6 separate regions of the Homo sapiens genome follow, and all the other regions are linked to region 2. Evidence: promoter capture Hi-C in 16 types of primary human blood cells and fetal thymus (Javierre and others, 2016). All regions are on one chromosome and are shown on one strand. Each heading gives the region's core, a stretch centred on a gene start or on the middle of the fragment in contact. The rest is flanking DNA. Distances are from core to core; before and after follow the strand shown. Region 1 holds the start of MIR4519 (microRNA 4519). Region 2 holds the start of NFATC2IP (nuclear factor of activated T cells 2 interacting protein). Region 3 holds the start of LOC112694756 (uncharaterized LOC112694756). Region 4 holds the start of INO80E (INO80 complex subunit E). Region 5 holds the start of TAOK2 (TAO kinase 2). Region 6 holds the start of PPP4C (protein phosphatase 4 catalytic subunit).

Region 1 (4,999 bases), core at 30-2,529, 1.9 Mb after region 2:
GCGTGTTTGTAGTCCCAGACACTCCTGAGGTTGAGGTGGGAGGATCACCTGAGCCCTCGGGAGGTCGAAGCTGCAGTGAGCGGAGATCGCACCGCTGCACTCCAGCCTGGGGGACAGTGAGGCGGTCTCAAAACAAAACAAAAACAAAAGGGGAGGGCGGGGGGAAGACTTAAAGACCCCTGAGCCAGGGCCATTATTATTTAACTTGGTCGGGTCTCTGAACCATTCGGAGGAAGCTTGGGTTTCTATCCTTCCCGACTGAGCCACAGACCTGAGTCTTGACTCCGGATAAATCACCCCAGACTGTTTTTCTGTCTGTGACACGGGAACGGCAGCTTCTGCCTCGCGAGGTGGAGAGAGAATGAGAAGCGCCGTGTGTGGCGCGCCTGACACGGTCAGCTCGCGGGTGGAGGCCCGGAGCAGAACGCCCTCGGGCGCCCGCTCTTGCAGCCGCACTGGAGACCGGGAATGGCTCCGGCCACGCCTCTGCCGACTGCGGCAACGCGAGGGACAGCTGGTCTCCGGGGTTGCAGCGTAACGCCCTCCTTCCCGGCCTCATCTTTCCTGACTGCATAACGGGCATACAGTGGGTTCCATGGCGCAAGGGAGCTGAAGAAGCCGCCCGCCCCCAGCTCGCCCGGGATCCTCACGCCCCTATAACGCCCCGAGGGGCCACGATGCTGCCCACAGCCCAGATCGCGAGTGCGGACCCTGCGGGAGGGTCTGGCCTAGATGCGAGTTTCCCGCCGCAGACCAGGCGAGGCCACGCGACATATCCCCTACCCGCTTACTGCAGGCCGCAGACGGAGACAGTGCAGCCCTGCGCACTGCTGAGGTTGCCCGAGGTCTCAGCCTCGGCGGGTCGGGAACACGCGGCGCGCGCCCGCGCCCCAACCGGAAGTCCGCCACCGGCCGCTCTAGCACGCGCAGGGCTGCGTCTGTGGCCTTAACCCTTCCCAAGGCTGCGCCGCCGGCCTTTGTCTCCGCGGAGCGTCACAAAGGTTGGAAGGGTCGCGGGGCCTCTGGGTGCCGAGCTGCAGATGCCTCCACTGCGAGCACAGCCCTGAGACAAGGGCCCAGGCGCCCAGCGGGGCTGGTTTCACTCAGTCCAGCCGCACCTACCCGTGCCCTCACCAGATCTTAAGATACAGACATTAAAACCTCCACCGGGCCGCGGCACAGGACAGCAGTTTTACTTTCTGTTTTTGGCATTGCATTGCCTCCATTTCCTAGAGTGCACGTAATAAATACCGCTGGTGATTCCAAAATATAAAGGTTGAAAATATTTACTTTACAAAAATTTGGTTCCCATACTGCTTTTAAGGCCATCCTCTGCACTTGGTTCCCGCTGCTCCTGATGTGGTTGAAAGATGGATGACCCCAAAGACGAGGAAAAGATTATTGGCTCCATTTTTTAGATGCGGCAGCCAGCTAAGGTCTAGACAGGGGAAGGGACTTGCCCCAAATCACAGTTAGAGCAAATCAGTCTGAATCAGGAATAACTCCATTCCTATCCCGCATCCTGCCCTTTCACTACGCCACAGCTGCCTGGCTGCCTGGAGGAACAAAGGAGGGCCGGGCAAGAACGCCATTACCAACTGCAAATCCACAGGCAAATGCAAGAGGACAGAAAGTAAGTTCTTGGGCTCTGCCCTTGTGCCGTACCCGGAGGGGTTCTGGGGTCACCAGCCAGGTGCATCCCTGCCTTCACAGCCATGCACAGCGACACCCAGTTAACTAATGGGGGGGATTATGCCACTTGCTGGGTATGCCTGTGCCACCAGTGCACTCACTCTGTGCCTGGGGAAATAACCACGGATGAATCTGGGGATCCCCTGGGCCCACTGTGAAATGGACCTGAGCTAAAACTCCATTGATCACAGGACCTCAGGGATCTTTTGGGTCTCGAGAACAGAATTGGATGCTACAGGAGAAATGTAACCAGAAAAGGATTAGGATTTTGCCAGTAGAGAAAGGGAGATGTGCTTGCTTTCATTCATTTATCATTAATGAGCACCTACTGTATGCCAGGCACCACACTAGGCCCTAGGAAGACAGAGATTATGAGACAGATGTGGCCTTATTCTAGCAGGGGAAGTGAGATGAAGGAGGTGAGAAAGAGGAAGTATAGTGACTAACCAGGGACCTGACCTAGTTTGAAGGTCAGGGAACCTTGGAGGAGGTGAAATCAAACCCAAAGCCTGAGATAAGAGAGAGAAGGGGAGGGTGGAGGGAAGGAAAGGGCTTCACAGACAGAGGGAACGGGAGTGCTAACAGCCTGGCCAGCTTCCTTGTGGTAGAAGTTCTATGCATGAGTTGGAAGAAAGCTTGGGGAAAGGGGCAGGAGAGGTGGGCAGGGGCCAAATCCAGCAGGGGCTTTTCTACCATAAGGAACTTGGTGGGAGAACTCCATGGGCAAAAACAGGTGTGGAAGGGACCAAGAAGCCCATGTGGCTGGAGGGCAGGACATGAGATGAAGATGACTAGAGCAGGGAGTGAGGAGGTGGAGAAGGTGAGCAGAGGCCAAGGCTGGGAGGCCTGAAATGCCTGGCCGCAAAACTCAGCCATTAGCCTGGAGGCCATGCAAGTGAACAGCAAGGAGGAGAGTGGAACACCAGGGAGCGGTAGGGATTGCGGGGACTGAAGGGCAGAGACTCCGCCCCCAGGGCAGTCAGTGTTCTGCACCCCCTACCCCCCTACCCCACCAACCTCCGCCCCATGACCACTCCAGGAGGCAAACTCAGTATCTCAGAATATCTGCTTTCAAGGGTAGCTGGAGTCCAGATTTCTTTTTTTATTTTTGGTAGAGACAGGATCTTGCTCTGTCGCGCAGGTTGAAGGGTAGCAACACATAGCTCACTGTAGCCTCAACTCCTAGGCTCAAGCAGTCCTCCTGCCTCAGCCTCCCAAAGTGCTGGGGTTACAGTGTGAGGCACGTCACCCGGCCTGAGTCCAGATTTTTTTTTTTTTTTTGAGACGGAGTCTCGCTCTTTCACCAGGCCCGAGTGCAGTGGCACTATCTCGGCTCACTGCAAGCTCCGCCTCCTGGGTTCAGGCCATTCTCCTGCCTCAGCCTCCCGAGTAGCTGGGACTACAGGCACCCGCCACCGCGCCCAGCTAATTTGTTGTATTTTTAGTAGAGATGGGGTTTCACCGTGTTAGCCAGGATGGTCTCGATCTCCTGACCTCGTGATCCACCCGCCTCGGCCTCCCAAAGTGCTGGGATTACAGGCGTGAGCCACCGCGCCCAGCCTAGTCCAGATTTTTATATGAAATCACTTGATTTTAATGTTGCCAACATGTTCAACACCATGTAAGCCAAACAAATCACATTCACAGGCTCACAGCTCCAAGCTTTGCAGCATGTTAGCATCACCTGAGGAGCTTGTAAAAATCCCAGGGCCCTTGGCCGGGCGCAGTGGCTGATGCCTGTAATCTCAGCACTTTGGGAGGCCAAGGCGGGTGGATCACCTGAGGTCAGGAGTTCGAGACCAGCCTGGACAACATGGTGAAACCCCATCTCTACTAAAAATACAAAAATTAGCCGGGTGTGGTGGCAGGCACCTGTAATCCCAGCTACTTGGGAGGCTGAGGCACGAGAATGGCTTGAACCTGGGAGGCGGAGGTTGCAGTGACCCAAGATCATGCCACTGCACTGCAGCCTGGGCGATAGAGCTAAACTCAAGACTCAAAAAAACAAAACAAAACAAAAAATCCCAGGGCCCAGGTTGCACATGATACCAATGTAAAATGTCTGGGGTGGGGCCGGGTGTGGTGGCTCATGCCTGTAATCCCAGCACTTTGGGAGGCCGAGGGAGACGGATCACAAGGTCAGGAGATTGAGACCATCCTGGCTAACACGGTGAAACCCCGTCTCTACTAAAAATAAAAAAATTTAAAAAAATTAGCTGGGTGTGGTGGCACGCGCCTGTAGTCCCAGCTACTCGGGAGGCTGAGGCAGGAGAATCACTTGAACCCAGGAGGCAGAGGTTGCAATGAGCCGAGATCGTGCCACTGCACTCCAGCCTGGGCGACAGAGCGAGACTCTATTTCAAAAAAAACAAAAATGTCTGGGGTGGCTGGGCGTGGTGGCTCACGCCTGTAATCCTGGCACTCTGGGAGGCCGAGGTGGGTGGATCACGAGGTCAGGAGCTTGAGACCAGCCTGACCAACATGGTGAAACCCAGTCTCTACTAAAAATACAAAAATTAGCTGGGCGTGGTGGCACGCACCTGTAATCCCAGCTACTCAGGAGGCTGAGGCAGAAGAATCACTTGAACCCGGGAGGCAGAGGTTGCAGTGAGCTGAGATCGTGCCACTGCACTCCAGCCTGGGTGACAAAGCGAGACTCCGTCTCAAAAAAAAAAAAAAAAATGTCAAGGGTAGAAGGCAGCCATCAGAATATTTAAATGATTCCCCAGGTGATTCCAGTATGCACACTACCAGAGACTACGTGCTTTCAGTTGCCAGGCTCAGCCATGGGGAGCCATGGGAAGTTTTAGAACAGGAGAGGAGCCCAGTTTAGAGTTTAAGGAAAATCATTCTGTAGGAGGAACAGAATGTAATCTTGTGTGAAAAGGGTCCGGAAGCCCCAAGGGCAGTGGCAGGATCCTGCTAGGGTGATGGTGATCAGCCATCCCAGTTTGCTCAAGACTGGGGTGTCTCCTGGGACATGGAACCTGCAGTGCTAAAACCAAGAAAGTCCTGGGCAAACAGGGATGCTTGGTCATGCTAGATTCTCCTGATGTAGTTCTGTTTTCCCAGATTTTTGGGGAGACTGATGCCACAGACTTCGCATTCTAGAAATTCCTAAGAAAAGGCTGTCCATCTCCCTGTGGTGCATTCACCTGAGTCTCTGAGCCCTGGCAGGGCCCATCTCTTCTCCACCCAGCAGAGTGATCCTGGCCTATGGAATATAATTTAGCAGTAAAAAGGAACAAACTACTGATTCACACAATAATCCGGATGACCCTCAAGAATATTAGCCTGAGTAAAAGAA
Region 2 (4,754 bases), core at 412-2,911:
GCCTGGGCAACAGAGCAAAACTCCGAATCAAGAAAAAGAAAAAAATAAAATAAATAGTCGGGCGCAGTGGCTCACGCCTGTAATCCCAGCACTTTGGGAGGCCAAGGCGGGGGCGGAGGGGGGTGGATCACCTGAGGTCAGGAGTTCAAGACCAGCCTGACCAACATGGTGAGACCCCATCTCCACTAAAAATACAAAATTAGCTGGGCATGGTAGTGCACGCCTGTAATCAATCCCAGCTACTTGGAGACTGAGGCACGAGAATTGCTTGAATCTGGGAGGCAGAGGTTGCAGTGAACCGAGATCGAGCCATTGCACTCCAGCCTGGGCAATAAGAGCGAAACTCCATCTCAAAATAAATAAATAAATAAAATTAAATAAATGAATAAAATAAAATTTAAAAATAAATAAATACATAAGATTTTTTTTTGAGATGGAGTCTCACTCTGTTGCCCAGGCTGGAGTGCAGTGGTACAATCTTGGCTCAGTGCAACCTCTGCCTCCTGGGTTCCAGCGATTCTCCTGCCTCAGCCTCCCGAGTAGCTGAGATTATAGGCGCCTGCCACTACGCCTGTCTAATTTTTGTATTTTAGTAGAGACAGGGTTTTACCATGTTGGTCAGGCTGGTCTCGAACTCCTGACCTCAGGTGATCTGCCCACCTCGGCCTCCCAAAGTGCTGGATTATAGGCGTGAGCCACCACGCCCAGCCTTATTATTTCTATCTTTCTTTCTTTTTTTGAGAGAGAGTCTCGCTCTGTCGGCCAGGCTGGAGTGCAGCGGCAGGATCTGGCTCACTGTAACCTCTGCCTCCCGGGCTCAAGCAATTCTCCTGCCTCAGCCTCCTGAGTAGCTGGGATTACAGGCGCACGCCACCACGCCCGCCTAATTTTTGTATTTTTAGTAGAGACGGGGTTTCACCGTGTTGGCCAGGCTGGTCTTGAACTTCTGACCTCGTGATTCGCCTGCCTCGGCCTCCCAAAGTGCTGGGATTACAGGCGTGAGCCACCGCGCGCGGCCAGCCTTATTATTTCTTTAAAGCATTTTTGAGACAGGGTCTCGCCCTGTCACCCAGGCTGGGGTGCAGTGGTGCGATCTCCGCCTCCCGGGCTCCAGCGAAACTCCCACCTCAGCCTCCTGAGTAGTTGGGACCACAGAGGGGTGCCACCACGCCCGGGTAATTTTTGCATTCTTAGTAGAGACGCGGTTTCGCCACATTGGCCAGGCTGGTCTCAAACTCCTGAGCTCAACCAATCTGCCCGCCTCAGCCTTTCAAAGTGCCAGGATTACGGGCGTGAGGCACCGCGCCTGGTTAAATCCGCGGTTTCCACAGGGAATTCCAGGCCCGCCTTCCTTCTCCCGGAAACCTTACCGCTCGAGGACTACATTTCCCAGGATGCCCTGCGACTAACCAAGCCGGAAGACGGTTGTCTTGGTTGGGCGGGTCCGGGAGAGGCTCGTCTGTGGAGAGGTGGCCCAGCCAATGGGTGAGGCCGACTGAATCGAAAGCTACGGTGATTGTGCCGAGGTGATTGGAATCTTTGGCGCCTTGGTTTCAGAGGTGGGCGCATGATGAGCGGGTACAGAGACCAATGAAAAGGCGGGAAGGCGGATCCCGCGCGTGGGGCGCGAAGAGTTGCTGACGAGCAGGCTGTTTGTCCAATGCAAGGCGAAAGTCGCTGAAGGGGGCGGGGCGAGGCGAGAGGAGGCGGGCGTGTGTTGTGGAGGAAAGTGTGCCATGGCGGAGCCTGTGGGGAAGCGGGGCCGCTGGTCCGGAGGTAGCGGTGCCGGCCGAGGGGGTCGGGGCGGCTGGGGCGGTCGGGGCCGGCGTCCTCGGGCCCAGCGGTCTCCATCCCGGGGCACGCTGGACGTAGTGTCTGTGGACTTGGTCACCGACAGCGATGAGGAAATTCTGGAGGTCGCCACCGCTCGCGGTGCCGCGGACGAGGTTGAGGTGGAGCCCCCGGAGCCCCCGGGGCCGGTCGCGTCCCGGGATAACAGCAACAGTGACAGCGAAGGGGAGGACAGGCGGCCCGCAGGACCCCCGCGGGAGCCGGTCAGGCGGCGGCGGCGGCTGGTGCTGGATCCGGGGGAGGCGCCGCTGGTTCCGGTGTACTCGGGGAAGGTGCGCCCGGTCCCGGGGAGGGGACCGGCGGAAGGGCCAAGGGCTTGGCCTCCAGGGAGGGGCCGGCGTTCGGGGAGGGTAGGGCTATAGGGGTGTTGAGGCTGGCGTTCTGGGGCTGGTCCTCGGGCGTTAGGGTGTTGGAGGCAGGGAGAGGCAGGGCTCCGGGACTTTCTGCAGACTGGGGTGGTGAAGGAGGGTGGGATGCGTTGGAAGTTTAGGATTCCTAGGAGCTAGAGTCTTGGGGGCACAGGGAGGCTGAAGAGCTGGGATTCCTGAGATTTTGGAGAGGGACTGGGAGGACCTGGGGCCGTTGGATTTTGAGGTTGGGGTCCATGGCAAATGAAGCCAGGGAGCTGCAGTATTGGGGGTTGGGGTCCATGCGGGTTCAGAGAGGACTGGGCGGCTCCAGAGGCTGGGGTCCCCCGATGGTCGTGTGAGCAATGGGCTGAGAGTCCCTAAGAGTCAGGGGTAGAGGGGCGGCTAGTAACCTAGTTAAAAAGGGCAAGGAAGCATACATTTCAGAGTGTCTTAGGCAGATGGAGGAAAGGGTGAAGGGTACTTCCATTCTGAATCCTGGGGAAGCTGGACTTCTAGGTTGCCAGGAGAGGGCCAAGGTGTCCACGATCTTAGGGAGGATTTGGGAGCTGGGTGTCAGGGAAGAATTACCCCCAATTTTTTCTTTCGGTAGGGGAAGGACTTGGGCCTGACCCCTCTCCCTTCTTTGTCTTTGCAGGTTAAAAGCAGCCTTCGCCTTATCCCAGATGATCTATCCCTCCTGAAACTCTACCCTCCAGGGGATGAGGAAGGTAAGGGAGGGCCTCCAGGGAGAGGCACGCAGCCGCTGGCTTCTCTTAAGAGAATTCCTGGGGTTTATATTCCTGCAGTCAGTTGTCTCCTGAGGCTCAAGGGAAGAGCGTGGGAGAGGGGACTCCTGCATCCCAGCCACAGGAGCTGGATTGTTAACAAGCATAGAATGTATTAATGTATACATTTCTGGTGCCACCTGAAGAGATGCTGATTCTGTAGTCCTGGGCGGGGCAGGAGGCGGTAAGGTGTTGAGAATCTGTGACATCTTGTTACATCTGCAGCAAGTTCTTTGGGAACACTGGAGCCAGCAGGGTGTTCTCTGAATCTTATCAGGGATGCCCTGTCTTTGTCCTCCCCCACTGATGCATTTTTTGCAAACAACTCAAGGGCGGGGAATAGGAATCTAGTCTAATAAGGAAATAATCCAGTGGGCAAATGGAGACCTTGGACCAAGACTCTTGTACCATGAGGGAGTACAGTGGGGTGATTAAAAGCAAACAGGAGCCATCTGGCCTGGGTTTGAATCTCAGTTCTCTCTTTTTTTTTTTTTTTTTTAGACAGAGTTTCGCTTTTGTTGCCCAAGCTGGAGTGCAATGGCACGATCTCGGCTCGCTGCAACCTCCACCTCCTGGGTTCAAGCGATTCTCCTGCCTCAGCCTTCCCAGTAGCTGACTAATTCCCACCACGCCTGGCTAATTTTTTGTATTTTTAATAGAGATGGGGTTTCACCATGTTGGCCTGGCTGGTCTTGAACTCCTGACCTCAGGTGATCCGCCCATCTTAGCTTCCCAAATTGCTGGGATTACAGGCGTGAGCCACTGTGCCCGGCCTCAGCTCTATCTCTTAATAGCTGTGTGATCTTAGGCGAGTTTCTTTTTTCTTGTTTTGAGACAGAGTCTCACTCTGTCACCCAGGGTGGAGTGTAGTGGCGCAATCTTAGCTCACTGCAACCTCCATCTCCCAGGTTGAAGCCATTCTCCTGCCTCAGCCTCCCGAGTAGCAGGGATTACAGGCGCCCGCCACCATGTCTGGCTTTTTTGTATTTTTAGTAGAGATGGGGTTTCATCATGTTGGCCAGGCTGATCTCGAACTCCTGACCTTAGGTGATCTGTCTGCCTTGGTCACCCAAAGTGCTGGGATTACAGGCGTGAGCCACCACGCCCAGCCTGGGCAAGTTTCTTAATTTCTCAGTGCTTCAATTTCCTCATTATCAAAGTGGGGATAATAGTAGACCCCATTTTGGTGCTGATTTTGGTGAGAATTAACGAAAGGGAATATAGAGAGAGCTGCCTCTTGGCTAGATATATGCTTTAGGACAGTACCTAGGACACAGAAGTGCTACGTAAAAGGTACCTCTATCCCTGATACTCAAAACGTGGGCCCAGCCATATATGGCATCCGTTGGAAGCTTGCTAGAAATGCAGGATCGGCTGGGCACAATGGCTCAAAGTGCTGTAATCCCAGCACTTTGGGAGGCTGAGATGGGAGGATTGCTTGAGCCCAGGAGTTCGAGACCAGCCTGCGCAACATGATGAGACCCTGTTTCTACAGAAAAATAAAAAATTAACCAGGCATGGTGATGTGTACTTGTAGTCCTAGCTACTCAGGAGGCTGAGGTGGGAGAAACACCTGAGCCCAGGAAGTCGAGGCTGCAGTGAGCCATGATCATGCCACTGCACTCCAACCTGGGTGACACAGTAGGACCTGGTCTCAAAAAAAAAAAAAGAAAAACGAAATGCAGAATCATAGGCCTCTTGCAGCTGCCATAGTTAGTTAGGACAGGATTTCATGACTTCAGCATTACTGGCATTTTTTGGACTGGAA
Region 3 (4,753 bases), core at 2,129-4,628, 1.1 Mb after region 2:
CATTATTATTTCCAACCTATAAGATGGAAGTAATTGTTTCTGCCACTCGTGCCTCCTGTAAGGATTAAGTAAGATAAAGTCTGTGGAGAGGCCTCTGTTGACACCAGCTCTAGCTCAGCACTGCTTCTTTATTCCCCCAGGGTAATTACCTAAACACAAGCCTTTCATTTTATACTAAGGAGGCTGGTGAACCTCTTCTTAATCTCTGGGAGATGATATCGTTGGATGTCCATTGGAGGCAGCTGAAAGTATTAGATCAGAATCAGAACTGCCAGGTCCCTTCCCACGTCCAAGCCTGCTGAAGCTTCTTTCATCTTCTGGGAACTCTGCATCTCTGATCTCCCACCCACCCCACGATTATTGGAAGTATACAATCCTGTCTGCCCTTTCCTAGGGGAAGTGCGGAACTACATATGATACATCTGACATCTCCAGCTTCCAACTTCGGGAGAGGAGACTTTGCGGTTAGCTGGCTATTGTGAAGTCAGTTTTTCTCTGCCCCCAGCAAATGTTGTGATGTGGATAGAAGTGGGGCCTCGGCACAGCCAGGCGCAGTAGCTCACATCTGTAACCCAGCACTTTGGGAGGCCGACGTGGACAAATCACAAGGTCAGGAGTTTAAGACTAGCCTGGCCAACATGGTGAAACCCTGTCTCTACTAAAAATACAAAAATTAGCCGGGCATGGTGGCATGCGTCTGTAATCCCAGCTATTTGGGAGGCTGAGATAGGAGAATCACTCAACTTGGGAGGCAGAGGTTGCAGTGCGCTGAGATCGCACCACTGCACTCTAGCGTGGGCAACAGAGCAAGACTCCATCTCAAAAAAAAAAAAAAAGAGAAAGAAAAGAAATGGGGCCTTGGCAAAGTGGGGTGCATACATCATCCCTTGTCTTGGCTTGCCTGGCAACACACAAGCCTGGGGCACTGCCCGTGCTCCTGCATAATGTATGAGCCCATGGTAGGAACAAAACACCAGCACCAGCGAGTCTGGGCACTGCAGGCCACGGACGTGTCCAGGGGCCTTGCCAAGGCTGAAGTCTCTCTGTTGGCAGAATATGCAGAATATGTGTTCCTGGAGGCCTTTTGTAGGGCTGAGGTGAGAACTGGCCTCAACTTGGTCCTCAGGATTCCATCAGACAATAAGACCGCCCAAGGCCGGGCACAGTGGTTCACGCTTGTAATCCCAGCAATTCGAGAGGCTGAGGCAGGAGGATCGCCTGAGCCCAGGAGTTCAAAAACAGCCTGAGCAATACAGTGAGACCCCGTCTATACAAAAAATTTTAAAAATTAGCTGGGTGTCGTAGCATGCACCTGTAGTCTCAGCTACTTGGGAGACTGAGGTGGAAGGATCCCTTGAGCCAGGAGGTCGAGGCTGTTGTGGTGAGCCATGATTGTGCCATTGCACTCCAGCCTGGGCTACCGAGTGAGACTCTGTCTCAAAAAAAACAAAAACAAAAACAAAAACCGGAAGACAGCCTAAGAAGACAATCTTCTTTAGGATCAATAATGGTGACATTAGCAACAGCTAGACTTCTGTTTTCTGGGCTTGAAACGCCCTCTGAGAGGGCCAGGGGTGGCCAAGAGGGTGGCTGAGACCACCTCAGTATGGTTGACAGTGGGAGGGAAGATTTGGATCCAGGGACACAGCCCCTGGCAGTTTCCGTGGCTGCCTCATGGTGTAGGAAACCCCAGGAGCAGCAGCTGTGGTGAGGTATGTTGGGGTGGAGAACATGGACAAAAATAGGTATATGGTGGCATTGTTTTTAGGGGAAAATGCCAGGATTCAGCCATCGTTTAGGAAGTCGGAGGCCTCCATAGAGAGGGGTGCTTGTGTGAGCGTGCATGTGTGGGTGTGTGCAAGTGTCTGTGTGTGTGTGATCTAAAAAGGTTAGGAATGAAACGGGGAGGTCTGAGTGCCTTGAAAGCCAAGGAAATTAGGACGTGTGGAAAACAATGCTTCATTCGTGGATGGTGTTTGGTTTCAATTCATTCATAGAATCAGTGAGTATTGGCTGAGTGCAGTGGCTCTGGCCTGTAATACCAGCAACCTGGGAGGCCGAGGTGGGAGGATCATTTGAGGCAGGAGTTGGAGACTAGCCTGGCCAACATAGTGAGACCCCATGTCTACTTTATTAAAAGAAAAAAACAGGCCAGGCGCAGTGGCTCACACCTGTAATCCCAGCACTTTGGGAGGCCAAGGCGGGCAGAACACCTAAGGTCGGGAGTTCGAGACCAGCCTGACCAACATGGACAAACCCCGTCTCTACTAAAAATACAAAATTAGCTGGGCATGGTGGCACTTCCAGCTACTCTGGAAGCTGAGGCAGGAGAATTGCTTGAATCCAGGGCGGAGGTTGCAGTGAGCTGAGATCACACCATTGCACTCCAGCCTGGGCGACAAGAGCAAAACTCCGTTTCAAAAAAAAAAAAAAAAAAGAAAAGAAAAGAAAAAAGAAAGAAAGAAAGAAAAAGAATCAGTGAGTATTCACCAAGGCTCCCAGGGCTAGGCCAAGTACTAGAGCTCAGGATACGGAGATGACTCAGACCAGGCCCCAGACACTTGCAGTCTAATTGTGGAGCCAGACATGGAAGTGAGGAATTCAAGTATCTTGTGAGAAGTGCGAGAACAACAGTATCTGTAGGATGCTGTGGGAATTCACAGTCCAAAGCAGCCACCTCTGCCTGAGGTTGGCAGGGAGACCTCACAGAGGCAAAACTGAGGACGTGCTTGAGGGATGAGGAAGAGGTTTGAGGGGAAGACAGAGGGTGTTCCAGGCAGAGGGATCAGCAACTGCAAAGCTGTGGAAATGTGAGACCCTACACACTGGTTCAGGAAGCTTCAGCAGATCCTACTGAAGGTGGCTTATGCCTGTAATCCCAGCTACCTGGGAGGCTGAGGCTGGAGGACTGCTTGAGCCCAGGAGTTCAAGACCAGCCTTAACAACATAGCAAGACCACATCTCTAAAAATTCAGAAAAAAAGGCTGGGCACAGTGGCTCATGCCAGTAATCCTAGCACTTTGGGAGGCCAAGGCGGGCGGGATTGCCTGAGGTTAGGAGTTCGAGACCAGCCTGGCCAACATGGTGAAACCCCGTCTCTACTAAAAATACAAAAATTAGGTGTGCGTGGTGGCAGTCGCCTGTAATCTCAGCTACTCGGGAGGCTGAGGCGGGAGAATCGCTTGAACCCAGGAGACATAGGTTGTAGTGAGCCAAGATCACACCATTGCACTCCAGCCTGGGAGATGAGCGAAAATCTGTCTCCAAAAAATAAATAAATCAATTAATAAATAAATCAGTAAAAAAGAACCGGGCCCGGCGCGGTGGCTCACGCCTATAATCCCAGCACTTTGGGAAGCTGAGGCGGGCGCATCACTTGAGGTCAGGAGTTCGAGACCAGCCTGGTCAACATTGCGAAACCCTGTCTCTACTAAAAATACAAAAATTAGCCGGGTGTGGTAGTGCGCGCCTGTAATCCCAGCTACTCGGGAGGCTGAGGCAGGTGAATCACTTGAACACGGGAGGCGGAGGTTGCAGTGAGCCGAGATCGCGCCACTGCACTGCAGCCTGGGCGACAGAGCGAGACTCCGTCTCAAAAATAAATAAATAAATAAATAAATAAATAAATAAATAAATATAAATAAAATATAAAAAGTAGCATTGATGTTTACAATATCCCTGAGCGGCAGGCGTTTCTCCCTTTTGCAGATGCTCAGTGGCTTGGCCGGAGATACATCCAAGTGGTGGGTGTAGCCTGGGGGTTCAATCCTCCTGTGGCGCCCCAGAACCCGGTGCCTCCTCCAACGTCCGGCATCTGATGAGGATCCGACCCAGGCGGGCGGCGGCGGGATTCGCTCTTCCCCTTCGCTCCCCGCGAGAAAGCCCCGAGGGCCGCGGCGGCGCAGAGCCGGTGACAGTTGAAGCTTAGGCGGGAAGAGGGAGGCGCGAGGCGGGAAGAGGGAGTTTGGGCCTCGGCAGCCGCCGTACAAACACCGCTCTGGTCACCATGGCAACAGCGGGATGCCGCGAACGGCTTCTGGGCGGGGCCGGTCCCTCGGACGATTGGACCTAGCTTGGCGCGGAATCCGTGAATTGCCCGCGGCCCGAGGGTGCAGGTGATGGGTGCTGACCGACTGGGGAAGCCCGGAGTGTGGGGACTGAGGAGGGGAGTGGCCTGGGGCGCGCTGGAGCCTGCGAGGAAGGCGCCGCCTCGGATCCCCCGCCCCCCATTCCCCTTCCCGAATTCCACCCTCCGGCCCAGCCATGGCCTCAGTTTCCCCAAACAGGAAAGGGAAGGAGGGTGGGCACCCCGGTCTAACGGTGCCTCTCAGCCTCTGAGACCCAGAACCTTCCTTCTGCAGCTCCCGGACTGACTGGCTCTGCCCTTCCCCATGGACGTAAGTCCGGGCCCCTTCCCCTCTCTGGGCCCCCTCAGCGCCCTCTCCTAACCCCGAATGGGCCTGTCTTCCAGCACGGACTGGGGAGGGGGCTTCTACCCAACAGAGACTACAACCTGCCAGCTCAGGACGAGAGCTGTCAGGAAGAGTCCAGGAATGGACTTCCCACGGGAGGGCACATTTCTGGTATTCCTGGCAAGATAAGGAGTTGACTAAGTAATCCACGAGAAAAGGCATTTCCGGCAGAGGAAACAGTCTGGGGGTGAGAGGGAGGCTGCAGCATTTGGGGAACTGCTAGGGCTATCGTGTGTTTGGAAGAGGGGGAGGGAGAGAGGTAGGCAGGGCTAAATTGGGAA
Region 4 (4,273 bases), core at 86-2,585, 1.0 Mb after region 2:
TTTGCCAGACGAGACTTGTTTTCTCTGGGCAGTTGGAGGGTCTCGCGGCTCCTACCCTTTTTTGGAACGGATCATTTTAAAAGTTCTCGTTAGAAACCAATTCGGCGCCGGCACCCTTTGGGTGAAACCTAATCAGCCCGCGACGCTGCCTTTCTCACTGGTCACGGGCAACAGCTAGGCTGCTGTTATTTCGCAAGGCAGAAGAGAAAAGGCATCCTCGCGAGCAGATGAGGAACCTCGGGGATAAATCCTTTTGTGGCTTCAAGTGTCTAAGTACATTAGAGTCAGGAACGGCGCTTTCCAGCGTCCGCCATTTTTGTGGCGTCACCGCGTCGCTGCTACGCCATCCCCAGCGCAGTGGCTGCCGCGCTCCTGTCCCAGTGTCCCCCGGGAGGTCGGCCCGTGCGGTGACGCCCCTGAGCGCGGGGTACGCCGGGAGTTGTAGTCCTGACGGCACAGCCTTGCAGCGTCTCCGGAAGTGGAGGCGGGAGCGGCACGGCAGCCACTGCTTGGGGTAGCGGGAGGGCAGACTCTGGGCGCCACTCCCGGGCCGGTCATGAACGGGCCGGCGGACGGCGAAGTGGACTACAAAAAAAAATACCGGAATCTGAAGCGGAAGCTCAAGTTCCTCATCTACGTGAGTGCTGCCGCGGGAAGGCTGTGGGGGATGAGGCCTGGCGCGGACAAGATCTCAGTTTACCCAGGTGTAAAGTGGGTGGGGCGAGCGGCCGCTGGTTCCGGGGCCCTTCACGGAGGACCGTTGGCCCAGCGCACCCCTTGCCCGTGATACAGGAGCACGAGTGCTTCCAGGAGGAGCTGAGGAAAGCGCAAAGGAAATTACTGAAGGTGTCCCGGGACAAGAGGTGAGGCACGTTGCAGGGGCGGAGGGCGATGTGCTTCCTAGGAAATCTACATTCGGACCCCATCCCCGAGTAGGGCCACAAGTGCATGGGCTCTTTCAAGTATCCGATGGGCCAGCTGGGAGGGACAGGTACCCAGGAGGACATTGCTGCGCTGGAAAATCACTGTCCGTGTCTCCTTCCCTCCCCTCAGTTTCCTCCTAGACCGACTTCTGCAGTACGAGAACGTGGATGAAGACTCTTCGGGTGAGCAAGGTCTTCAAAAATTGGTGGAGAGCATGGTTCCTGGTACTTAGCAAGCTTCCTGGGCCCCCGCCTTTTAGGCAGTGGTGGCTGATGCAGCCCCCAGTGGTCCTTAAGCCTAGTTGCTTGCCTTCCACCTCCACCGTTCTTTCATTCAGGCACTTACTGAGCACCTATTGTGTTTCAGGCACTGTGCTTGGCACAGGGGATACAGCAGAGGCAGAGATAGGCAAAGCCCTTGGCCTCTTGTAATTTATATTCTAGTTGGGAAGAATAAGTAAATGAAGACAATAGACTAGAATTTTAGGTCATAGGAAGGACTTGAAGGTAATGAAAACAGTTATGCGGTAATGATTATAGTAGAACAGGGGTTGATGAATTGTTTCTGCAAAGGGCCAGATGGTAAGTAAGCTTTTTGCAACATACAATCTTTGAAGCACCTACTGAACTCTGCCATTGTAGTAGCAGCCGTACCCCATAGGCAAATACATGAGTATGGCTATGTTTCTATAAAACTTTATAGGCACTGAAATTTGAATTTCATATTTTTCCATATGAAAAATTTTTCTTTAGTTTTTTTTTTTTCCAACCGTTTAAAAGCTTAAAAGCCATTCTTGGCCAGGTGCAGTGGCCCACGCCTGTAATCCCAACACTTTGGGAGGCCGAGGTGGGCGGATCACAAGGTCGGGAGTTCAAGACCAGCCTGACCAACATGGTGAAACCTCGTCTCTACTAAAGATACAAAAATTAGTCGGGTGTGGTGGCGTGCACCTGTAATCCCAGCTACTGGGGAGGCTGAGGCAGGAGAATCATTTGAACCCTGGAGGCAGAGGTTGCAGTGAGCCGAGATCGCTGCCACTGCATTCCAGCCTGGGTGACAGGGCGAGACTCCGTCTCAAAAAAAAAAAAAAACGCCCTTCTTAGCTTGCAGACCACACAAGCAGGCAGCAGGCAACCTCTGAATGGAGTACTCAAGAAAGGCCTTTCACAGAGTGACATTTGAGTTGGGACCAGAGAAGAAACCAGCCTTCCATCCTGGGCAACATAGTGAGACCCCATCTCAATTAAAAAAAAATTAGCCATGTATAGTGGTGTATACATGTGGTCCCAGCTACTTGGGAGGCAGAACCAGGAGGATCCCTTGCCTGAAAGGTCAAGGCTGCAGTGAGCCATGATAGCACCGCTGTGCTCCAGCCTGGGTGACAGAGCAAGACTGTCTCAAAAGAAAGAAACCCCATCCTGGCTAACACAGTGAAACCCTGTCTCTACTAAAAATACAAAAAGTTAGCCGGGGATGTTGGTGGGCACCTGTAGTCCCAGTTACTCGGGAGGCTGAGGCAGAAGAATGGCGTGAACCTGGGAGGTGGAGCTTGCAGTGAGCTGAGATTGCACTACTGCAGTCCAGCCTGGGCAACAGAGCCAGACTCCATCTCAAAAAAAAAAAAAAAACAAAAACCAATCTTGTGAAGAAGTGGGCTAGAGCTGTCCCGGCAGAATAATATAAATGCAGCTACCCTGAGGTAAGAACAGGTCAGGCTTGGTTGAAGAGCAGAGGCATGAAAGAGAGAGAACACTGTTTTCGTCCTTTTATTTGAATATTGTCTGCAGTTAACTATATTTTACATCATAACCAGGGCCCCACATGTTAAACAAAACAAAGTTTAACGAAACATTTTTAAGATCACTGTATCCAATTCATCCTGACACTTTTTAGACTGCTTTTTTCCCCTTCTTTTAATGCTGGTTGCAAACCAATAAATTGATTTCATGACCCACTAATGGCTTGAGACCCACAGTTTGAAAAAGCCCTAAGGTAGGCATTTGTGGGCCTCTTCCTGGGTGAGGCCCTCGTAAGCCATGTCACGTAGAATCACCTCTCTCCGTGGTGCCTTTAAACATTGGTCTGGGCCGGGCACGGTGGCTCACGCTTGTAATCCCAGCACTTTGGGAGGCCGAGGCAGGCAGATCACGAGGTCAGGAGATCGAGACCGTCCTGGCTAACATGGTGAAACCCCGTCTCTACTAAAAATACATAAAATTAGCTGGGTGTGGTGGCGGGCGCCTGTAGTCCCAGCTACTCAGGAGGCTGAGGCAGAAGAATGGTGTGAACCCGGGAGGCGGAGCTTGCAGTGAGCCGAGATTACGCCACTGCACTCCAGCCTGGGCAACAGAGCAAGACTCCGTCTCAAAAAAAAAAAAAAGCACATTGGTCTGAGGCAGGGATTGGCATGTGGCAGCCAGCCACGTTTTAGGACGTAGTGTTTTGTCAGAACGCATGATACCCATTTGCTTGTTATTATAGGAGGATTGTAGATAAGGTTGGGGAAATAGGCAGGGGCCCACTCAGGTAGGTCATAGTAGGAGATTTGGCTTTTATTGTAGCCTCTCATCCCCTGCCTCTTCCTTCCCTAGGGGCTTCCAGTTAACATCCTGTTTGAGGGGAATTCAGGGCAGGAGGTGGGAGAGAACCCAGCATGTTCATGGCCAGAGTGGGTTGCATCTGAGGAGGAAGAGCCAGCGATGCGAGCCCCACTCCCGTCCTGGAGGCCCACGCCCTGGCCAGGGAGACACTCGCAAACGACGCTTTTCAGCACAGTGTGAGGGCAGCCATGACGAGAGTAGAGCGTTCCAGGAGAGCCTGCAGTTAACTGGGCTTGAGGGATTCTGGAAGACTTCACAGAGGAGGTGGCATTTAATCTGCTTCTTAAAGGGTCTGTCTGAGCAGAGACATTGGTAACGGCTTCTATAGGTGTAGCAGTCGTTTGTTCGATGAAAGATGGCCCTTCTAGGCAGAGGCACTGAACTAGGAAATACATTTCTTTTTTGACGAAATAGGTCAGTGTGCTTTAAAGAATACAGTTACGTTAGTTGACCAGAAAGGTACATTGAAGCCAGATTAAGCAGCACCATGAATTCATGCAGGTAGTGGGTGATGTCATCAGGAAGGATGTGACCAGGTTTGTTTTAGGTCACTCTGGGGTTGGGGGTGGACAGTGGGTGGCACGGTGAGGTGAGACTGCTTAGCAGGTGATTTTGACGTGCTGGTGGCCTGACCTGTGTTAGTTGGTGTGGGGAGCAGTGGATGAAGGGGAGGACTTCAGGGGTAGATGAACAGGACCCTGGTTATGGGGAGTGGGGCAGAGGCAGGAGTTGAAGACTGCTCAGCTCAG
Region 5 (4,317 bases), core at 631-3,130, 1.0 Mb after region 2:
TGTGGCTCCAGGCTGCTGGTCTTGGGCTCCTTCCTGCTTCTCTTCTGTGGCCTTCTCTGCTGTGTCACTGCTATGTGCTTCCACCCGCGCCGGGAGTCCCACTGGTCTAGAACCCGGCTCTGAGGGCACTGGCCTAGTTCCCGACTTGTTTCTCAGGTGAGGTTCTTTGCTCCAGTCCTGCGGGAGCAGGGAATGGGGTGGGGGTGGGGGTTGTAACCGGGGTAGAGCAGATCCTTGGACTTTTCCTCAAAGACTGCTGCTTCTGAGTCCCCGAGAACCTCTTCAACCACAGCTCTCCCTTAGGGACTGGGAACAATTTGACACCGTCAGCATTCAATATTTTTCTAATTACTTTAACTTTTTTATTATAAAATAGTTAACACTTATGTAGAAAAGTCCAATAGTATAAAAGGACAGCTTGGCAAATTATTATAAAGTGGATACTTATAAATACCACTGAGTAGAATATTACCAGCTGTCCAGAAACCCCCCATGGTCCCTTCCTTCCTGACAATGCCCTCTCTCTCCCTAGAAATTACTGTCCTGCTTTATAATGTATTGCCATGTATGTATTCCTAAATAATATAGTTTGGTTTTACTTATTTTTGAAACTATGTAGACAGAATCATACACATTCTTTTGTGGCTGACTTCTTTCAAGCAACATTGTGATTTTAAGACTCATAACTAGTTCACATCCAAGCATTTGGGTAACAATGGTGAGTTAAGAGGGTTCACATTTGATGATTTGTCCTGAATATGAACCATGTTTGTCTTGCTTTTGTCCTGAAATTCCAATACCCAGTTTTATGATGGAAATTTTGTAAAATTCAACTTGAACCGCTCAGAAGAGTCTAACTGATGATACTCATTTACTGGGGACATAGTATGTGCCCAAGAACTTGACATGCACCTTCTGTCTTCCATTTAGTCATCGTTACCTTTAGAAAAAGCTGATTCCGTTAACAAGATCTTTGGAGGGAATCAGCTTCACAAACGTAGCAGTGGGTGGGGGTCATGTTGGTTAACCAGTTCACACATCAGCTCACTAAAGGAAAAAATATTTCTGCAAAAAATCTTCACTTGTCAGAGGGGGGTGCATGAAATTTGAGAGCCATGTGTTATGCATCCAGCTCTTGAACTGGTCTCAGCTTCAGCTGGCTGCAGTGCCCTAGGAAGTTACTATGGGAAAAGTGGAAATAGTTGAGGCCCAGGGAACTGATCAGGCCAGAGGAAGTGGAAGCTCAAGATCAACTGTGCTTATTTTGCTGATGGCTGGGCCTAAATGCCCCAACCACCTACTTGGGACAGGAAATGACAGGACCCTCTCAACCTTGGACTGGGAAAGGAGGGCTTCCTGGCCCCTGACAGACCCTGGGGTCCTGAGGCTACCTTAGTTGGGATTAAATGCCCGTATTGGTCTCTAGCTGTCACTCCCTCTGCTCCTTCCTCAATTTCTGCACACATCTCAGAGCTTCCTCTAGCAGCTCTTCGACCTGTTTTGTTGTTTTATTTTCTTTCTCCCCAGGTGTGAATCAACTTCTTGGGCCTTGGCTCTGAGTTGGAAAAGGTTTTAGAAAAAGTGAAGAGCTGGAATGTGGGGGAAAATAAAAAGCTTTTTTGCCCAGTGGCGTGTATGGTGTTTATTGGGGGTTGGATTGAGGTGGGGATTTTAGGGTAGGCAGGCTTAGAAGTTTTGGGGGACTCTTTCCTGTTGACTCTCTAGTTTGGACACAGGTTGGCATAGGGCATAGGTTACTTGAGCTCTCCCCATGGTTGACTTGGCTTTGGTAAACACCTGTCTTGTTTTCTTCTACGAAATAAAATGGATAATTACAGTTAGTTGGGCGGGTGGGGTGTCAGGTCATGGAAATGCTGTGACATAAATGCACTGTGACCTTGGCAAGTCTTGCAACCTGCAGCGCCTCAATTTCCGTAAGAGATTTGACCGATTGAGTTTTCCCAGCGTCGACGCGCAAAGATTCCTCGCACTTGGAGGCCCTTTTCCAGGTTAGATGGTTGCTAACCTCGGAGCAGTCTATTTTCCCGCCTTTTCCGCGCCCAGCAGCAGCTTCCTTTGCCCCTCCCAACTTCCACCCTGCGCGCAGTCGCAGATCGCCGCTGCTGTCCGTCCACCCGCGCCCCCTCAAAGCTTCCCCTAGCAACAAGCTCGGGCTCAGAGCGAAGGCGGGGCGAGCGCATGCGCTGCAGCTCTGTCCACCGCCAGTCGTGGGACAGAGTGCCGGGCTCCTCCCCTTGCAAGTCTAGCTCTTCTCCCCGCCTCCTCCGGCCTGGGGTCCGCGTGGCGGGGCGGGCGCGCACTCGGGCTTGGCGGCTGCCGGTCTCCCAGGCCGCGGCAGTGAGGAGAGAGGGCGGGGCTGAGTCCTCTGCGCCCCCGCCCCCTTTAGCCCGGCGTCCCTACCGCGCCTGCGCGCTCCCGCCCGGTCTCCATCTTGGAATTGGGAGGAAGAGGGAGAGGGAGACCGGGACGAGACCGGGGCTGTGGTGCGGAGAGAGGCTGAGACGGAGAAGAGGAGAGGCAGAGAGGGCGCGGGGACCGTCAGCAGCACCTTAGCTACAATCGTTCAGCTATTCTCGGAAGAGAGAAGGGAGAGGGAGGAGGCCGGGGCGGGAGTGGGGGCTGTCACCCTCGGACCCCGGCGTGAGAGGGGCCGTGCGGCCGGACGTCCTCGGGGTGGGCCCCCAGTCGGTGGCCGAAGACCTACAGCTCAGGCCCCTGGGTCCCAAATTTCCAGGCTTTGCCCCTCCTCCTTTCTCAGATACCCGGGTAACAGTCCTCATAGTCCAGATATCCGGGACTCGGGTCCCAACCTCTCTAAACCTGGGTCTCTGTTTCATAGAATTTCAAATATCAGGTTCAGGCCCCTGCGTGCACCAGTATCCGGGGTTCATTCCCCGGGCGTTCAAATATCGGATTCAGTCTCCATCCCGTTCAGATATTCGGGGTTCAGACCCCACAATCAGAAATCCGGAATTCGGCAGCTGTCGCCCTCGACGAGGGGGAGGACTGGACCGCGAGGTCAGATTAGGTTGTCACCCCCTCCCCTCCAGGGGAGGCTTCCCGGGCCCGCCCCTCAGGAAGGGCGAAAGCCGAGGAAGAGGTGGCAAGGGGAAAGGTCTCCTTGCCCCTCTCCCTGCTTGGCAGAGCCGCTGGAGGACCCCAGGCGGAAGCGGAGGCGCTGGGGCACCATAGTGACCCCTACCAGGTGAGACACGGGGTGCAGGGGCGCGGGTCCCTGTGTCTAGTTCTGAGAAGAAAGGGTGCGCCTTTCTGAGAAGCTGGACTTGGGTAGGCCCTCTCAGGATGGGGAAGCCCAGCTGAGCGAGTGGTCAGCCTCTGGCTAGCCTTGCCTTCTGTTGCCACCCCCTTCCCCTTCCTCTTCCCTTCATTGTGTCTGGTTGGTGGGGGACCTCAGGTGACAGGGTCTCTGATGTCACCGGCGTTCACACCCTAGGGTGCTTCAGCTAATCAGATGGATTTGCACTTCAGTCTTCTCTCCTTCACTTTGCCCCTCACAGCCACCTCTCCTCCCTGATATGTCCCGTTCTCCTGGCTATTCTGTGGTTTTGATTCCCATGCCTCTGATTCCCATGGTGGGTCTGCTTATCTGCTTTTCAGGCCTGGTCTGGTTGGATTTCTTGTCCTTGCAAGGAAGTGTGTGTATATGTGTTTGTGTGTATGCGTGTGTGTGTGTGCTTGGAGGTGCCTGGCAATGTTTTCCCCCAGCTGCAGTTACCTTCCAACCTCTTGCTGTGATGGTGTCAATAATCTCATCCATTTGTCAAACGATCTGTCTTTTACAAAGTGCTTTGACAGCCATTCTCTCATGTGACATCCCCGCATTCACCCTGTGGGGGCCTCTTTTATTGGCATCTTCCCATTTTACAGTTGAGAACGTTGAGGCCGAGAGAGGTTGCCCAAGGTCACACAGTGGCAGAACCAGAATTTGAACTCAAGTCCTCAATCACATCTTTCCCTGATGCATGCCTGGTTCTTGCCATCTCTTTTCCTCTGAGTTTGGGCTCGGCCAGGGGTCCCTAGGAGTCCAGGCTGGGGTGAGGTTTAAGAATGGGGATGAGATGAGCTTCCTTTCCAGGAGGGCTCTACTCAGAAGCTTTTCCTGATGGGAGCCTCTGGCTTTTGCCTCTGCCTCATGGAGTTTTCTATCCACTGTGACCTTCATCTTTACCCCAATCCCAGGGTTTGGCCTGGATTCCTGAGAGGGCTCTCTCCTGACAAATGGTAGCACTAGTGGCATCTTTTAACTGTTCAAGCCAAGCTGTTGGGGTAGAATGA
Region 6 (4,341 bases), core at 460-2,959, 1.1 Mb after region 2:
TTCTGAAGTTGTCCACGGCAAATATTTCTCTGACGGCACAGGAAGAGATCTGAACTTGGCTTCCCTCATCCATTGAACAAGTATTAACAAGTATCTATATATGCCTACCGTGCCAGGCCTTATTCTAACCACTGGGGCTGCAATATTTAAAAAGACAAAGTTGGATCCTCCAAGGACTGTGGTGGGGAAGGCTGACAAAACAAGTAACAAAAATGTGTAACATTAAAAAAAAAGTGTAATGTTAAAAAAAAAAAGTGTAATAAAGTTACAAAGCCTAGCCCCAGCTCGGCTTGTTTCCCTAGCTGAAATGGGGGATGGCCGGGCGCGGTGGCTCACGCCTGTAATCCCAGCACTTTGGGAGGCCCGAGGCGGGAAGATAGCTTGTGCCCAGGAGTTCGAGGTCACAGTGACCTATGATAGCCCCACCGACTCCAGCCTGAGCGATAGAGCGAGACCCTGTCTCTAATTTAGAAAAAAGAAAGTTGTGGCCGGGCGCGGTGGCTCACGCCTGTAATCCCAGCACTTTGGGAGGCCGAAGGGTGGTGGTGGGTGGGGGCGCGGATCACCTGAGGTAGGGAGTTAGAGACCAGCCTGACCAACATGGAGAAACCCCGTCTCTATTAAAAATACAAAATTAGCCCAGCGTGGTAGCGCATGCCTGTAATCCCAGCTACTCAGGAGGCTGAGGCAGGAGAATTGCTGGAACCCGGGAGGCGGAAGTTGCGGTGAGCCGAGTTCGTGCCATTGCACCCCGGCCTGGGCAACAGCAAAACTCCGTCTCAAAAAAAGAAAAGACAGTTGTTTAAACATTTTTATGAAATGATATGGGAGGGGACTGGTCTAGGGTTTCTAATAGCCTCCACATCGCCCAGCGGCAGAGCCCACAAAACTGCCACTGGCCGCCACCGGGTTCCTCCACCTCCTTCCCGATCTCAGGCTGGAGAAGTGGTGCAGGGGTCGCTGCGAAAGGAGAGGAGCGTGTATGACGCCACATCCGGCGCGCGGCGGAACTGGCCTCCTTTGCTTCCGCGGCGGGGCCGGAAGTAGGAGCGGCGGCGGCGGCGGCGGCGGCGGTCGAAAGCGGAGTGAAAGAGGGAGGCAGGGAGCCGGAGAGCCGGAACCGGAGTCGCAGCGGCGGTAATAGTGCGAGACTCCTCTAAGTCACCGTCCTTAGCGCGGGACCGCGGGGTTCGACGGGAGTTAGCGGGGGTGCGGCCAGGCCGTTGGACGCCGGGGGGTCCTGGGGCCGATGTGAGGGGAGGCGGGGGTGGGGGAGCCGGGCCGGCTCTAGAATCGAGTTGTCCGCTCCGAGCCCCGGACGGACACTGATCCGCGGGCTCGTCTTGGCCTTTCCCAGGAGACCCCTGTGCGGTGCGGAGGGGGCGGCGGCCCCGACTCTGACCCGCGCCGGGGGTGGGCCATGGCGGAGATCAGCGACCTGGACCGGCAGATCGAGCAGCTGCGTCGCTGCGAGCTCATCAAGGAGAGCGAAGTCAAGGCCCTGTGCGCTAAGGCCAGGTGAGCTCGTTGGCCCTGGGGAAGGGAGGCCAAGCCGCCGCCCACGGGTTCTGGCCTGGGGCAAACCCAACTGAGAACTTTGGGCTTGCCTCGTTCTGGAAGCTTTCCCAGAGAGGAGCAGGATGGAGCCGCTGCCCTCGAGGAAAAGCTAGCCTGCTCGGGGAAGACAGAGTGGATAAAGACACTTAAAGTTTATTAGACGATGTGTTTCCAGTGGAGTAAGAGTGTTACATAAAGTACTTAGGAAACTCAAGGAAACAAGTCCATCTGTCGGGGGACGGAAGCTTGTTGGAGGGGGGCCGAACTGTGGGAGAGGCCTCGAATAAGGAGGTGGTAAAAGAGTCAGCCAAAAACCAAAAGTTTAAGACAGGAAAGTTAAAGACCCTGTGATTTATAAAAGTCTTCTAATTACAACAACCCTTAAAGATTGGTGGTATTGTACTCATTTTACAGGTGGGAACTTTCATGTTCAAAGTTACCCACAAGTAAGGAATGGGGTCTGAAGCCAGCTCTTAGTGTCCTGTCCTTTTTCAGGCCATAATGCAAAAAGGTGGAGTTGGATCATTCACGTTCAGGGTGGGAGCCTGAGAAATCGTAGCAAGTAAGCCAGGGTAGAATTAAGCACGATAGGGAGGCCAGTTCAGAGTTCTGTGGGAAGTAGGATGATGTAGTGGTTAAGGCTCTAGGTTTTGCAGTGTGAGATGGCTCTAGGTTTGAATCTGAACTCTGCCGCTTTCTAGCTGTGTTAGTAATCTTAAGTGTCTTTATTTGTAAAGCAGAATTAATAGTACTTAATAAGATGATTGTGAAGATTCAGTGAGTTGGTGCTGGAGATGAGGTTAGCACAGTGTTTTGGTACAGCATACGTGCTTGATAATCACCAGGTATTCTATTTCTTTTGGAAGAGGGCAATAATGAGATGGGCTAAAGCCATCAGGGAGGGCTTTTGAGTGGAGGTAGGCCTTGAAGGATGAAGATAATTTGGCTAGCTGATGGAGGCAGGGCCAGTGAGGGAAGGGCATTCCAAGCAGGACGAATGTAACAGTGGAGGCCCTGAGATGCGTGGGGAACAGTCAGGGGTTTAATTACCTGCCTCCTCTGGGGAACTGTGTGATTGTGGCTTCTACCAGGCTGGAGAATTGTGGCAGAAGAGCCCACAGAATTACCCTACGTTTATTGAACAGTAAACATTGGCCTTTACAGGGCCACTATTTGGCCTGGCCCGGTACTGGCAAAAAACTTCTATCCATCTCTTCCCCCCAGCAATCCTATGAGGTTGGAATCATTTGCTGCATTTTATCGAATAGGAAGCCATGACTCGTAGAGGTCTGGTGACTTAACTGAGGTCACCCACTGAGGACGTGGCAGAGCTGGGTCCTGAATCTGTGGCCCTCAGGCTCTTTGCCTGGCCCTGCCTCACATAGACTACCTGCAGCCAGACAGGGCCTGTGAGGGGATGATGAGCAGGGTCGGCCTCTTTTTCGCCACCTGTCTGTGGCTTTTCTCTTTTGCCAGCTGACCAGACCAGCCCCATGGTGTTTTTAGTTGTCCCCTTTCCCTCAGTCCTGATTGGCATTTTTAGGAACTTAAACCTGTTGTTGCCTGGCACTATTCTTTAACCTCGAAGTATTGTCTCCCTCACGGGCCCTGGATCAGTGTGGTGGTGATGGTAGACAAAGCTTAGATAGCATGCTGGAGTTTGCAGAATAGCAGGAAGTCGTATATTCAGTCTCCATGGCTCCTTGCAACAGCCTAAGGAATACGCAGGGTGGGCTGAGTACTTAGCCCCATTTCATAGCAGAGGAAACTGAGCCTTTGAGTAGATAATGTCTTGCCCAACATCACGCAGCTAGTCGGAGGGGAAGTTAGTTTTGCATCCAGGTCTTTGACTGTGCTCCGTGGTCACTGAGAGCCAGGCAGAGGCATTTAGATTTTGATGTGGGGTGTGAGGCAGCAGGAAGCCATGGAAGGCTGAGGGGTGGAGGGTCCTGCCCAGTTGAAACTGAGTGGAACTAGGAGGTACTAGGCCAAGGCCTGAGTTGGCCGCTGTTGTCCCAGGCTCAGTCTGAAGCAGGGCCATCTCTGATACCTGGTTATGGCCTCCTGGGGACCCATCAGAGACCCAGGCTGAGGCTGGTGGTGTCAAGAGCACCAGCTTGCCTAGAGGGCACAGACATGCAGATGAAACCAGTGGAAGCACAGAGGTCCGCAGTGTCTGAGCTGAAATTGCTGCTACTAGAAATATTAGCACAGTAGGAGAGCTGAGCTTTTGAATCAGGTGGTCTTCAGTATGAATCTTTGCCTTGTCACCTAGAAGCAATATGACCCTCGTCAAGTCACTTTCTGATTTTTTGAAGTGATAATGACATGCAGTTGAGAGTCCGGGTATCCGGGCACAGGGCCTGCTGCGCTGGTAGCCGTTACTGCAGGCAGGTCCTGATAGGGCTGGGGAAGTGCTGCAAGTGGCAGAACTGGGGCTGGAATCTGGGCCTGATTCCCAGGCCACACTGGGGTTGCGCTGGCACTGAGGGGGGCTTTGCAGAGAGCACGGGCCCTGCATGTGACCTCCCTGGGCTTCAGGTTTTCACTCAGGGTCTGTGGAAGGGGCTGGCATAAATTCTCAGGAAATTGGGCTTCTGGGTTCCAATTTAGCCACTCTCCAGCTTGGTGACCTTGACCCTCCCGCTTTTCTGTAAGCTTTGGTTTCTTTTTTTCTTTTTTTTTTTTTTTGAGACAGAGTTTTGCTGTTGTTGCCCAGGCTGGAGTGCCAGTGGCCTGATCTTGGCTCACTGCAACCTCCACCTCCTAGGTTCAAGTGATTCT

The links. The method cuts DNA at HindIII sites, captures the fragments that hold promoters and counts their contacts. A CHiCAGO score of 5 or more calls a contact.
Region 1: a contact is called between a fragment that was not itself captured here and the fragment with the promoter of NFATC2IP in region 2, in 1 of 17 cell types (total B cells). The highest score is 5.2, in total B cells.
Region 3: a fragment that was not itself captured here is called in contact with the fragment with the promoter of NFATC2IP in region 2 in 1 of 17 cell types (fetal thymus); the score reaches 5.7 in fetal thymus.
Region 4: a contact is called between a fragment that was not itself captured here and the fragment with the promoter of NFATC2IP in region 2, in 2 of 17 cell types (fetal thymus and total B cells). The highest score is 9.8, in fetal thymus.
Region 5: a contact is called between a fragment that was not itself captured here and the fragment with the promoter of NFATC2IP in region 2, in 1 of 17 cell types (fetal thymus). The highest score is 5.4, in fetal thymus.
Region 6: a fragment that was not itself captured here is called in contact with the fragment with the promoter of NFATC2IP in region 2 in 1 of 17 cell types (total B cells); the score reaches 7.5 in total B cells.

What each region holds. Positions count from the first base shown.
Region 1 is chr16:30,874,486-30,879,484 of GRCh38, forward strand. MIR4519 (microRNA 4519) reads right to left here and starts at 838; the gene lies at 781-838. It overlaps MIR762HG (MIR762 host gene), which reads left to right and starts at 975. Exons shown (of 3, transcript NR_110942.1): 1 at 975-1,001; 2 at 1,545-1,633. It also overlaps a transcript of BCL7C not described here. RefSeq lists enhancers at 1-258, 259-1,013, 548-807, 1,014-1,768, 1,078-1,287 and 1 more and a silencer at 1,688-1,747. The HindIII fragment of the contact is 2,091 bases long and covers 235-2,325 here.
Region 2 is chr16:28,949,276-28,954,029 of GRCh38, forward strand. It overlaps NFATC2IP (nuclear factor of activated T cells 2 interacting protein), which reads left to right and starts at 1,662. Exons shown (of 8, transcript NM_032815.4): 1 at 1,662-2,123; 2 at 2,857-2,929. The coding sequence starts at 1,737. NFATC2IP-AS1 (NFATC2IP antisense RNA 1) reads right to left here. Exons shown (of 2, transcript NR_186408.1): 2 at 3,627-4,754. RefSeq lists enhancers at 984-1,518, 1,538-2,038 and silencers at 1,758-1,857, 1,998-2,117. The HindIII fragment of the contact is 4,735 bases long and covers 1-4,336 here.
Region 3 is chr16:30,049,103-30,053,855 of GRCh38, forward strand. LOC112694756 (uncharaterized LOC112694756) reads left to right here and starts at 4,049. Exons shown (of 14, transcript NM_001365304.2): 1 at 4,049-4,115; 2 at 4,362-4,397. The coding sequence starts at 4,392. It also overlaps a transcript of TLCD3B not described here. RefSeq lists an enhancer at 4,452-4,753. The HindIII fragment of the contact is 1,085 bases long and covers 2,837-3,921 here.
Region 4 is chr16:29,995,755-30,000,027 of GRCh38, forward strand. It overlaps INO80E (INO80 complex subunit E), which reads left to right and starts at 487. Exons shown (of 7, transcript NM_173618.3): 1 at 487-637; 2 at 793-863; 3 at 1,054-1,106. The coding sequence starts at 557. It also overlaps a transcript of HIRIP3 not described here. RefSeq lists enhancers at 211-380, 441-570. The HindIII fragment of the contact is 354 bases long and covers 1,159-1,512 here.
Region 5 is chr16:29,971,423-29,975,739 of GRCh38, forward strand. TMEM219 (transmembrane protein 219) reads left to right here. Exons shown (of 6, transcript NM_001083613.2): 5 at 1-156; 6 at 1,528-1,626. The coding sequence ends at 123. TAOK2 (TAO kinase 2) reads left to right here and starts at 2,446. Exons shown (of 16, transcript NM_016151.4): 1 at 2,446-3,226. LOC124903762 reads left to right here and starts at 2,200. Exons shown (of 2, transcript XM_047435036.1): 1 at 2,200-2,358; 2 at 2,575-3,213. The coding sequence starts at 2,200. The coding sequence ends at 3,213. RefSeq lists a silencer at 2,136-2,505 and enhancers at 2,929-3,700, 3,407-3,536. The HindIII fragment of the contact is 537 bases long and covers 1,613-2,149 here.
Region 6 is chr16:30,074,958-30,079,298 of GRCh38, forward strand. It overlaps PPP4C (protein phosphatase 4 catalytic subunit), which reads left to right and starts at 1,037. Exons shown (of 9, transcript NM_002720.3): 1 at 1,037-1,137; 2 at 1,358-1,518. The coding sequence starts at 1,421. RefSeq lists a silencer at 1,311-1,450 and an enhancer at 1,561-1,650. The HindIII fragment of the contact is 182 bases long and covers 1,619-1,800 here.